2 separate regions of the Homo sapiens genome follow, and region 1 is linked to region 2. Evidence: promoter capture Hi-C in 16 types of primary human blood cells and fetal thymus (Javierre and others, 2016). All regions are on one chromosome and are shown on one strand. Each heading gives the region's core, a stretch centred on a gene start or on the middle of the fragment in contact. The rest is flanking DNA. Distances are from core to core; before and after follow the strand shown. Region 1 overlaps MED13L (mediator complex subunit 13L). Region 2 holds the start of MED13L (mediator complex subunit 13L).

The links. Contacts are between HindIII fragments. The CHiCAGO score rates a contact against its expected background, and 5 or more counts as called.
Region 1: a contact is called between a fragment that was not itself captured here and the fragment with the promoter of MED13L in region 2, in 16 of 17 cell types (M1 macrophages, megakaryocytes, erythroblasts and 13 more). The highest score is 15.3, in M1 macrophages.

What each region holds. Positions count from the first base shown.
Region 1 is chr12:116,016,717-116,022,655 of GRCh38, forward strand. It overlaps MED13L (mediator complex subunit 13L), which reads right to left. Exons shown (of 31, transcript NM_015335.5): 5 at 5,740-5,885; 6 at 3,062-3,256; 7 at 2,508-2,696. Among named protein-coding and RNA genes, the nearest start is that of MIR620, 130 kb to the right of the region's middle. The HindIII fragment of the contact is 1,700 bases long and covers 3,840-5,539 here.
Region 2 is chr12:116,276,393-116,282,399 of GRCh38, forward strand. MED13L (mediator complex subunit 13L) reads right to left here and starts at 1,301. Exons shown (of 31, transcript NM_015335.5): 1 at 668-1,301. The coding sequence starts at 739. RefSeq lists silencers at 1,130-1,599, 1,650-1,709. The HindIII fragment of the contact is 4,130 bases long and covers 26-4,155 here.

The sequences.
Region 1 (5,939 bases), core at 3,440-5,939, 260 kb before region 2:
AGTGGTATCTTAGATGGAATTAAACAAGACTTGTTACTCCAATCTGTTAAAATGCATGTTGAATGTTGTTACTTGCAATTACCTCTACATATCAAACAAAGAGGCAAGTGGATATACCAATCCAAATAAGGTATGAGTAATGTCACTAATACTATTCGGCCCTCCTAAGCCCTCTGCTAATCAAGGAGAACCTTGGTGTTTTTTAGACGGCAAAGTAGCCCATTCTGTCCTATATCTAGAAAAATATGGCATTCAACTACAGAATGTCAAGGCTGACCGGGATACTCTCTGATACAGCATTAAGACTCCTAACCTGTAATTCAACATCCTATGATATGAAAATTTAGGCAAATTCATTTTACTACAAGGATATCGGCAGCTTTTGTTCAGTTGTGTGTGTTTGTTTTAAGGAATAAGGCGACATCAGGGGATTTATTTATCCAAGGCCTAACACAATAGCATACAGAGTTAAAGGGGAAGGAATTTGAAGATCCATAGTTAATTAGTCCACACTGAAATCCCCCATCAAAAAAAACCTCTTGTTTCTGAATTATGACTATTAAGAGTTCTGAACTGACCAGAGGTCAAAGCCTCATTTACACAGCAGGCCTTCAATTTTAAGTTGAATACAAATTTCACTAAGTACAAGGCAAAACAAAAACAAACAGATAACAAGTGGATAACTTAATGTAGTGCAATTGTTAAAAATCCAAATTGTGATGTGAAATTAAAAACTTCAAAATACTGATAATTCTAATTTTTATATTCATATATCTTCTCTATGATGATTACTACAAAAGACTATGAAAGTTCTTTTTTAGTTTAATATAGTTGATTGATGATAAATCCTTTCACAAGGAATCATCCAAATTCTCTGCTCTACCAAATGAAAGCCGCAAGTACTTTTTTATTTTTTTGAGATATGGTCTAGCTCCGTCGACCATGGTGGAGTGCACTGATGCTGTCTTGGCTCACGGCAACCTCCACCTCCAGGGCTCAAGCCATCTTCCCACCTCAGCCTCCCAAGTAGCTGGAACTACAGGCATTTGTCACCATGCATAGCTCATTTTTGTATTTTTTGTAGAAACAGGATTCCACCATGTTGCCCAGGATGGTCTGAAACTCCTGAGCTCAAGCGATCCACCTGCCATGACTTTCCAAAATGATGGGATTACAGGCATGAGCCATCATGCCTGGCCTTGGATGTACTTTTCTTTTCTTCTTTTTTTTTTTTTAACCATCTCAGCAAATACATGGTTCTTAAAAACATACATGTCCATTTCTATGTCTCCCACAAAACATCTGAGTAATTACCTCCAGACAATGTGTGCTAAACTTCGAGTTTTGAATATTGCTTTAAATTATTGCTACCACTTGTATATGACTTTATTGTTTACCAAGCACTTGTATATATTACCTAGTATGTACAACAACACGGTAAAGTATGTATTTATCAGAAAAAATAACCAAGATTCAGAAAAACTACGAGAATTAAATAAGGTCACTCACCTTGTAAACGATATAGCCAGGTTTTACAACGAGGTGCGCTCAATCACAAAGTATATGCTTTTCCCCAATATCTTCTTTAACTATAAACATTTATTTAATGCCCACTAATTGCCAAGAATTGTGCTAGAAACTTTCAAATTTTGTCTTACTCTGGTAATTTTCATGAGGATTACGTATGTATCATGCTTGATAGTTTATTTTCAAAGTTTAGCAGCCAAGGCTTTATTTACTCTAATGTTCCTGCCAGCTTGGCCCACATTCAATGCTTATAAATAAATAATCTCATTTCGGCTCAAGTATGATGAGTATCCTTTCCATACTGACCACAGTTCTAATTAAAGTGAGGTCAACTACAACAATAACAAAGTTAATATAGGAACTATACTACTCAATAAAGAAGGCAAAAATGTTCCCAATTTAAACAATTTCTGAATTTTTCCATGAAGACAGGCAGTTCCAACTGTCAAAACTGTCCCATATAATTAATATTTATTATTAATGCAGACACTTTACTGACAGAGAAAAGTATTTATTCAGAGCTACTAAGCACTAGTCTAACTTTACATCTAACAGGGAAAAGAGTTGTTCAAGGCCTGTCCCTGGCTGACAATGGTCACCGGGGCAGAGGCTTCAGCTACTCTCTGATTTAGTATTCTTCAGTTGTTCAAAATTAAAAAAAAAAAAAACAAAAAAAAACCCTACATTTTATCTATATGTGAACACATACACACATACAGGGGCAGATGTGTGTGCAAACTTTAACAGAATCTAAACTATTTAATAACAATAAAGACTAATATGGACAGAGTTAAAATTCTGAAGTGTATGAATTCTGTTTGTTTATAGTTTTCCTTCTCCATTTTGTAATATCCTTACGTTACTCTACTACCTCCATCTCTTCCAACAGGAATTTCTGTTTTCTCACCTGTTCCATGGCAGGTAGACTATACAATTGTCTGAGATCTCTTCTCCCCAGGACACTCCTGGATCCTACTCACCTAGGATAGCCTGTTCTGGAGAGGTGGGAGGGGTCAGAGGCATCCCACAGTTACTTGGGTCCTTCACACTACCAAGCCCTTGCTGCCCAACTGCAATGTGGCCTCCAGCACTGGCAACACTCTGAGGAACCGGGATGTCATTCTGAGAGATCAAAACAAATGCTGAAGGGTAAACCATCCGAACACCACCTATAAGCAAAGAGAACAAGGAAAGAATCAGGACTGAGAAAGAATTCATACAAGACTTCCAATTTTATGATTCCAATGGTGAAAATGAGATGCTCATGAAGTACTGCCAAAAGTGATAGGCTCCATTCTTTCATAAGTTAATAGCTGTTTAAACATGTGTTCCAACATGATGATAAGAGCATTTGGAATACAAGGACCAAGGGTGCTTCAGGCAAGATAACTACTCAGTACATACCATTGTGTCAAGAGAATTTCTTTAAAAAGATGGGTATGGAGATTATTTCTGAAGAATCTAAATGATTATCTTTTTAAATTAAGGAAGAGGAAGAAGAATAAAGTTCTTCAGGCAAAATATTTTCTCTTACCAACAATTACTTCAACTGCCACAGGGAAATCATCATCATATCCCAACTCGTCTTCCTCTTTCGATTCTTCTTTCTTTTTTAGCACCATCGGGTAGAAATACTGCCATTCCTCAATCAACTTACGAGTGGCTGGGTCTGACATCTTGTATGCTTGGCCTGTTAGCGTCCCATTTAAGCCATAAGGACTTACCAGTACTATGGAGGGGAGGAGAAATACATGCTAAACATTAGAGAAATAATTCCTACTTAAGTGCAACACTACATATGTGGTAATTTTAGGTTACAGTATCACTTAATGTGCATTGTTCTTTATTTCCTAACTCTATTTAAAGTATGATTTAAAAGAAATTTTTTTAAAAATTATTTTTGTAGAGACTGGGTCTCACTATGTTGCTCAGGCTGGTCTTGAACTCCCAGGCTCAAGTGATGCTCCCGCCTTAGCCACAAAAGTATGATATTTTGAAGTTTCTTGTTTTAAAATTTCTTATTATTTATACACCTCTCACCTCCCACAATTTTTAAACGAAATAAAATATGGATAGTACAATGTTATCAGACAGCTATGCTTTGAAGCATATACATATCTGTTTAATAATAGCCTGTACAATGTAAACACTGACTCTCTCAAAACAGAAGAAAATCATTCAACATGGAGACCGCAAATGCTGCCTAAAACTTGAACACTCTTGTGGTTCCTGAGACTCCCTAAACATCTGTGGTAATCAAAGAATAACATATAAATGAAATTTCTAACAGTGGGAAAGTTTTAATGTACAAAAGCTTGAAGCATAATAGTTATCGTTTCTGTTTTGACTGTTTTAGAGGTCTGTTGATAAAACAACTCTAAGTAAAATTTGATTTAACTCAAAGTAAAGGACCCAAAGTCCTCTATCTTCTTTCAGTATTTGACCTTGATGGCATTTTCACTGAGTCAGACACAAAAATATAGTTAATATAGTACTGTGAATTACCCAGCCAGTTCATAGCCTTGAAGTGAGTACTTCAATCTTCCAAATAATACGTTTCTGAAGATAAAGGCCACTTTTTCTTAATTCTAATTTTTAACAAAAACTCAGCATGGTCATTAAACGGAATGTCTTTTTTTTAATTTTTTTAAAGAGCTAGATCATATGTCACATCAATCAAGAGAGAGACAGTTATAGACATCACATGTATCGTTGAGTCTTTCTGCTGTTCCTCAATGATCCAAATGGGATAAAAATACTGACTCCAACTAACACAGTTAATCAAGGGTAATTTTTTTGCAATAATGCTTCCAGGAAATTCCCACATCAATTTGGATAATTATGATGAATATAATTATCCATAAGGACAGCAACTGCCTTAGTATGGTCTTCCTCCACACCAATCATGGAAAATAAGCAGAATAATGCTCCACAAAAGTATTCTATGACTTCCATCAGTGACAAAAATCAGAAAAATTAAAAGTGGTCTATAGGGACCTGGTATTCCTAATATTATTGTTCCCAACATTGAAGATTAGAAATAAGTTCTCTTCCCTCATGACTACTTATTCCTCTGTTATTACCATAACTAAATGCTTTTATTCTGAGTGATAAAATGTTGGATGGAGTCAGATGGTCCTCAGCACTTTTACACTCAAGAAAACAGTATTTTAAAAATTCTGATAAGCCATAATTTGCAAATACTGTACAATTTGTACTGTACAGTTTAAGAATTGGGTTTTGAATTTTCTAGTAGTTTTATTATATTTGGGGCAAGAAACAGATGCTTTCATTGAATTAAATCAGAATAGTTTATAGAAAACAAAAAATAAATACAATGGAGGCTAAATGCTCATGACAGGCTTTTACAGCAATTATAATATTTTAGTCAAGTCTGTTAAAATATCAGTGTTTTTTAAAATTATATTGTGTGATATGCTAAGACTATTTCAACCAGTCATCTCTAATAATGACATATTAGACTGAACCAAAAAAAGATTGTTTCCATACGGTTCAATCTAATATTATAACATTTAAAAGCTGTTACTCACAGAAAATTCTGAATTCCAAAGACAAAACTAAGATTTGTAATGCTCAGATCAAAAGGACATGAAGTTATTTTGGTGATATATAGGTGGTAAAGCTGAGAATTAATGAAAATATGAATGTATCAATTACATTTAAATTACAGCTAAATACCTATTACCAATGGAGTTTAAAATTAAAACAAAGTTAGGAACATCGCTGAAGAAACTATACACTGTATAATTCTAGAACTTTGATTCTGATAGAAATTTCAAATACTAAGTATTTGGTTTATCTTCTATAAACCATTACATTCCTAAAACCTTGTTAATAAACACAACAATGAAAACCTTTAATTTGTGACTTTGGTCAATTACTCATTGAATTCTATTTTTCAAGTATTTATTGATTTTCTTTTGTTCTGAAGGAAATTCTACATTTTATTCTTACAAAAGAATACACATAAGACCATCTTATATATGCGATAAGCTTCAGCGAAAAACTAACACACTATTACTACTTAATTATGAAATGGTAGTCTTTTCTTCCTTCTTCAAAATCTGACCCTTATGCTTAGCTTTAAAATGTCCATTTAAGATAAGGTCTCACCCTGCAAAACTTTACTGGGCAAGATGGTTATCCACTCGGTGGCGGATAGGGGTGGAGAGCAGGAACACCCATACTTACCTTGAAATGGTGCAGGTGAAGACTGAGCCATGTGTATATGCTCCTCATTGATCAAATAAATTGGCTGGTGCTGGGCAATCTCCACACTTGTGCATACATTACTTTCTCCATGCAGAAAGAATGTGAAAGCACAGGACAAATGCTCACTACAAAAGAGAGAATGAGAAACTCAACTTTATATTTTGGTAGGAAAGGGTGCT
Region 2 (6,007 bases), core at 51-2,550:
ACACAGGAGGAGAGAAAGAAGAAAAAGCTTTCTCCACCTTCCGTCGGCTCGGTGCAATGGCTTTACGGCTCTCCAGCATAGTAAGCCCCGAGAGGCAGGCGGCTGTCGATGTTTACAATCGCGGGAGCTTCGGGTGCAAGAGTCCTTTCCTGACACAATCGCATTCAATCAACTATTTTAGGGCGAAATTGCAGGTGTCATTATGGAATTTAAAAAAATTCAAAAGGCAGGCGGGCGGGCAGGCAGCTGATCCAACAACGGGGGAAGAGGTTGCCGATCGGAGGCGCGGCAGCACAAGGCAAAGCCTTCCACATTTACGGGGGGAAAAAAAGGGGGGAAAGGGGAGGAGAAGGGGAGTGCGATTGCAACAGAGGGTGGGCGTTCGAAGTGCGACCCAGAATCCGCAGCTCCGAGACTTCCACATGCAAATTCCACGCCGAGCGCCGCGCTCACAAATGATTTTTAAAGAGCCAAATAAACACTGGATGGGATCCAAGGCGAGAGAGAGACGATCCAAAAGGGGGAGAATCGGCGAGAGGCGAACGGCGGGGAGACGCGAGGGAGGGGCGAAGTCCCGGCGGCGGGAGGAGAAAGTTGGTCGGCGGCGGAGGTCGGGGACCCCCCCCCTTCCCCGGCACAGCCCCCTCCCCGCAGCCCGGCTACTCACCAGCGAAAAGAGGTTGGAGTGACAATCCTCCAGGCTCGCCCCGTTCGCCACCCAGTTCGCTGCCGCAGTCATGATCCTCCGCGAGCCCGGCCGCCAGAGCGGGGCATGTCGGAGCGAGGCGTCCGAGGCGAGGCCGGGCCGGGCGGCGGCGCCTCGCCGGGGAGCGCGGGGCGGCCGGGCCGCCGCCGCCGCCGGGGGAGGGCGCGAGGGCCGGCGGGCAGGCGGGAGGCGCCGCGGCGACGCCGCGCCGGGGGCAGCGGGCCCGGGCTGGCGGGGGGGGCGCGCGCCCCGGGCCGGCGCTGCGGGCCGGCCACCGCCTCCGCCTTCCCTGCTCCTCAGCCGCCGCCGCCGCCGCTGCTGCCGCTGCCGCCGCCTTGTTTATCTCCAGCCACCGACTCCCCCTCGGCCCCCGCCGGCGCGCGAGGGGAGGCGAGCCCCGGAGCCGCCGCCGCCGCCTCGGAGCCGCCGCCGCCGCGGAGCGCGAACTCGCGAAGGGGGGGGTGCGGACGAAGCCAGCGGGCGACCCCGGCAGCCGAGCGACGTCCCCTCCTTCCTCTTCCTCCCCCACCCCCCCCTCCTCCCCAGTCAGCCTCGCTTCTCCTCCCTCCCCGGGCTCGCTTGCTCTGACAGCAATGGCGGCCGCCGACCGCGGCTCGGCCCGCCATTGGCTGGCGCTTGGTCACGTGACGGGCGCCGGCCGCGCGGGGGGAGCGAGGGGCGGGCGGGGGAGGGGTCCGGAGTGGCGGCGGCGGCGGCGGCTCGCGGGAGGCGCTGCTGAGCTGAGCGCGGCCGGGTCCTCCGGCCGGGAAGAGGGAGGGAGGGAGGCAGAGAGGGAGAGAAAGAAGTGCGGGCGGCCGGGCTCCCCGGCGGGCGGCGGACTGCCGGCCCGTGGCTGCCGTGGGCTGCCCCTCGTGGCCGCCCCGCCCCCTCGCGGTGCACTGATCGTGGCGGGGCGGGACCGTGGGTCCCGGGCGCGCCCGTGGTGGCCGCGGAGGAGGGCGCGGGACCCCCGGCCTGTGCCCTCGCAGCCCAGGCCGGCTGGCGTGGCGCGGCGGCCGCGATGTGGGCCAGGCAGCGGGTCCGAGTGCCCTGGGGAATGTGTCCTCAGAGGCTCGCGCCGCCGTCCGCCTTTTGCAGAGGAGAAAACTAAAGCACAAAGGGATTAAATCACTTGCCCGAGGTCGCACACTTGGGAAGAGGAGTCCAGATTCGAACCCGCGCACAGTGAAGCCAAGCTCTTGGACAAGGTTTCACAGGCTTCGCCCAGGGATATTCACGGCTGCCATAGACGGAGCGCTTACTGTGTTCCAGACACTGTGCGTTTAATACAGAAATGTTTATTGAGCCCTTACTCCTAGTTACTGTGTGCACTCATTCATTCATTCATTCATTCATTACATAAATGTTTCCTGAGCTCCTGCTGTGTGCCAGAATCTGTTATAACTTCCAGGCACTGTGCTAAGGCCGTGTTGGGAGCAGACCCTTCTTCCTGGCGTCATTCATTGGATAACCAACATTTCCTGAGTGTATATGGCCTGGGAGTCCGGAGGAGTGCTGCTATGAAGAGAAGCTCTCCCAGTCCTCAAGAAATGGATCCCCGAAAAGGGGGAGGAGAAAACAATGTCTTCACTAATACGCCTCCAAACATGGAACAATCAGCTGTTTCAGGTAGATTAAGCTAAAAGAGGAAGAGTGGATGGCTGGCACAGTGGCTCACGCCGGTAATCCTAGCCGAGGTTTAAGACCAGCCTGAGCAATGTAGCAAGAACCCCCGTCATGACAAAAAAAATAAAATACAAAAATACAAAAATTAGCCAGGCGTAGTGTGGCATGTGCCTGTAGCCCTAGCTACTCGAAAGGCTGAGGTGGGAGGATAACTTGAGCCCTGGAGGCAGAGGCTGCAGTGAGCCCAGTGAGCCGAGGTCGCATCACCGTACTCCAGCCTGAGTGACAGAGAGAGGCCCTGTCTCAAAAAAAAAAAAAAAAAAAAAAAGGAAGAGTAGAAAGCAGGGAAGAGATGAGAGTGTATAATAAGAGAAGTCTTAAGACACGTGAACTGAGTTTTGGAACTACCACAAATACTGCTAAAGCAAAACTCATGAGCAACATGTTATAATGTGTATTATCATGCAACATATTGTTACAATGAATGTCGTTACCTACATTATTTCACATAATCCGCAGAACAACCACCTAAAGTAGATACTGTTATTATTCTTAGGCTGTAATTAGGTAAAACTCAGAGGTGTGCAGTGACATCTCCAATCTCTCAGTTAGTACATGGCTCAAACTCAGGTCCTTCTGACTCCAGAGCCCGAGCATGAATTCAGGAGGCTCCTTAGAAAGATGCCTCTGGCTGGCTTTGCCATCCCTCTAATTGCATTATTTTGACCAACATAGTTTAACTCTTTGAGCCTCATTTCCTAATCTCAAAAATTGATCCTGATTGCTGACCCAATGACCTCAGGCCAATATTGAGAATTTCTATTAAGATACTGTTGATGAGCGGATGCAGTCGCTCACGCTTGTAATCCGTGCACTTTGGAAGGCCAAGGCGGGCAGACCAACTGAGGTGAGGAGCTCGAGACCAGCCTGGCCAACATGATGAAACCCTGTCTCTACTAAAAATACTAAAAATACAAAAATTAGCCGGGTGTGGTGGCGTGTGCCCGTAGTCCCAGCTGCTTGGGAGGCTGAGACAAGAGAATCGTTTGAACCCAGGAAGCAGAGGTTGCAGTGAGCAGAGATTGCACCACTACACACCAGCCTGGGCGACAGAGTGAGACTCCATCAAAAAAATAAATAAATAAATAAATAAAGATACTGTTGGTAAAAGTAAAAAAAAAAAAAAAAAACCACTCTGTCAACATACACGGTGTTACTTAGGCCTGAGCAATTCGAGGGTATAATGCCCATCATATCCAGATTCCATATATTTACATCAGAGGTGAAGGTAGTTCTATCCTACTCACCTGGTGACCAAATTGTCATTCTTCAGCATGTTTAGGTTTAAGTAGAAATAGTAATAGGCCAGGTGCAGTGGCTCACACCTGTAGTCCCAGCACTTTGGGAGGCCAAGGCCAGCGGATCGCTTGAGTCCAGGAATTCAAGACCAGCCAAGGCAACATGACAAACTCCCATCTCTACAAAAGAATTAGCCAGGTGCTCACCTGTAGTCCCAGCTACCTGGGAGGCTGAGATAGGAGGATCGATTGAGCCTAGGAATTTGAGGCTACAGTGAGCCATGATCTTGCCACTGCACTTCAGCCTGTGTGACGGAGACCCTCTCTCGAAAAATCAAATACTAATGATAAATCTTTCAGAGCAAAACCTAATAGAAACATGAATAAAGGACTTGGACAGTTTACAGAATAGAGAAGACCAGCTTTTAAATGCAGTCATGTACTACATTTTGGACAACAGTGGACCACATATATGACAGTGGTCCCATAAGATTATAATACCATATTTGTACTGTACTTTTTCTAAGCTTAGATGTGTTTAGATACACAAACACCATTATATTACAACTGCCTACAGTATTCAGTACAGTAACATGCCATACAGGTTTGTAGCCTAGGAGCAATAGGCTATACCATTTAGCCTAGCTGTGCAGTAGACTATCTCATCTAGGTTTGTGCAAGTGCACTTTATGATGTTTGCACAATGAGGAAATCACCAGTGTTACATTTCTCAGAACACATCCCCATCATTGACACTTGATTGTATATAAAATGTTACTCAACCTCACTCGTTGTTATTGGCTGAATGTTTGTGTCCTCCCCAAACTTCATATGTTGAAACTCTACTCACCACTGTAAAGATATTTGAAGGTGGAGCCCTTGGGAGGTAATTAGCATAAGAGTGGAGCCCTCGTGATGGAATTAGTGCCGTTGTAGGAAGAGACACAAGGGAGTTTGCTTCTCTCTCTCTACTGTGTGAAGACATAACCAAGAAGAGGGTCCTTACCAGGAACTGAAATGGCCAGCACCTGATCGTGGACTTCCCAGCCTCCAGAACTGTGTGAAGTAAATGTCTGTTGTTTAAAGCCACCCAGTCTATGGTAATTTGTTATAGCAGCTGGAGCCGACTAACACACTCATCATAAGAAAAAGCAGAAATTAAAGCCACAAGAAGTATTGACAGTATTTTAAAAGCTTAGACAAATGTAGAGAGAAGTAGGACTCTCATACACTGCTGGTGGGAATATAAATTAACACCATAGCTTTGGATGTCCGTTCAACTAGCATCAAAATCTATAATGCACACAGCCTTTGACCCAGCTGTTCGACTTCTAGAAGTTTATCCAACAGAGATACTTGTACGATTGTATAAAGACATGCAGTGCAGGGATATGAACTATAGCATTGTTTGTAGGGTACAAACTAGAAACATGTCCATCATTTGGGGAATAGTTAACAATATAATTTACTCCCATGCAGCCATTAAAAATAATGAGTTAGTGCTATTTGCACTAATATGGAATAATCTCAAAAATAGATTATTTATTGAGATACCTCAGGAAGGGTAACAAGAAACTAGTAGTAACATTAGTTGCCTCTAAGGAGGGGAACTAGGGGGACTGGGAGTTGGAGTGGGATTACTTTTTACCATACTGTTTGCATTTTCTTTTTTCCTTTGTTTAAAATAACCAAATGTTGGCCGGGTGCTGTGGCTCATGCCTGCAATCCTAGAATCCTAGAACTGGGAGGACAAGGTGAGTGGATAATTTGAGGTCAGGAGTTCAAGACCAGCCTGGCCAACATGGTGAAACCCCATCTCTACTAAAAATACAGAAATTAGGCGGGCATGGTGATGCGTGCCTATAATCCCAGCTGTTTGGAAAGCCGAGGCAGGAGATTGCTTGAACCTGGGAGGTGGAGGTTGCAGTGAGCCAAGCTCCTGCCACTGCACTCTAAACTCTAACCTGGGCGATGGAGTGAGCCTCTGTCTCAAAAATAAATAAATAAAATAAAATAACCAAATGTATACATATCCATTCAGTGCAGTAAGTTATAAACAACAAAAATCAATAAATAAAATTGAAAACAGAGTAATCAATCAAATGGCATCATAAAAGTAAACTTAAAGCAAATAGAGAAAACAAAAAAGAAGAAAGAAAAATACCCTCATCCACAAAGATTTTCTTGGCTGTCAGAGACCCCAAAGAGAAGGAGAAAACACTAGAAGTGCTGCTTGTAGCTGTGCTGACACCATGAATACAGAATGGGAACCCAATGGCAGCCAGTTGCAGTCTCAAATGCACTACGGAGCAGCCTATGATCCTGGACAAGCCAGTCAAACTTTCAGGGCCTCAGTTTCCTCGTGTGTGAAAACAGC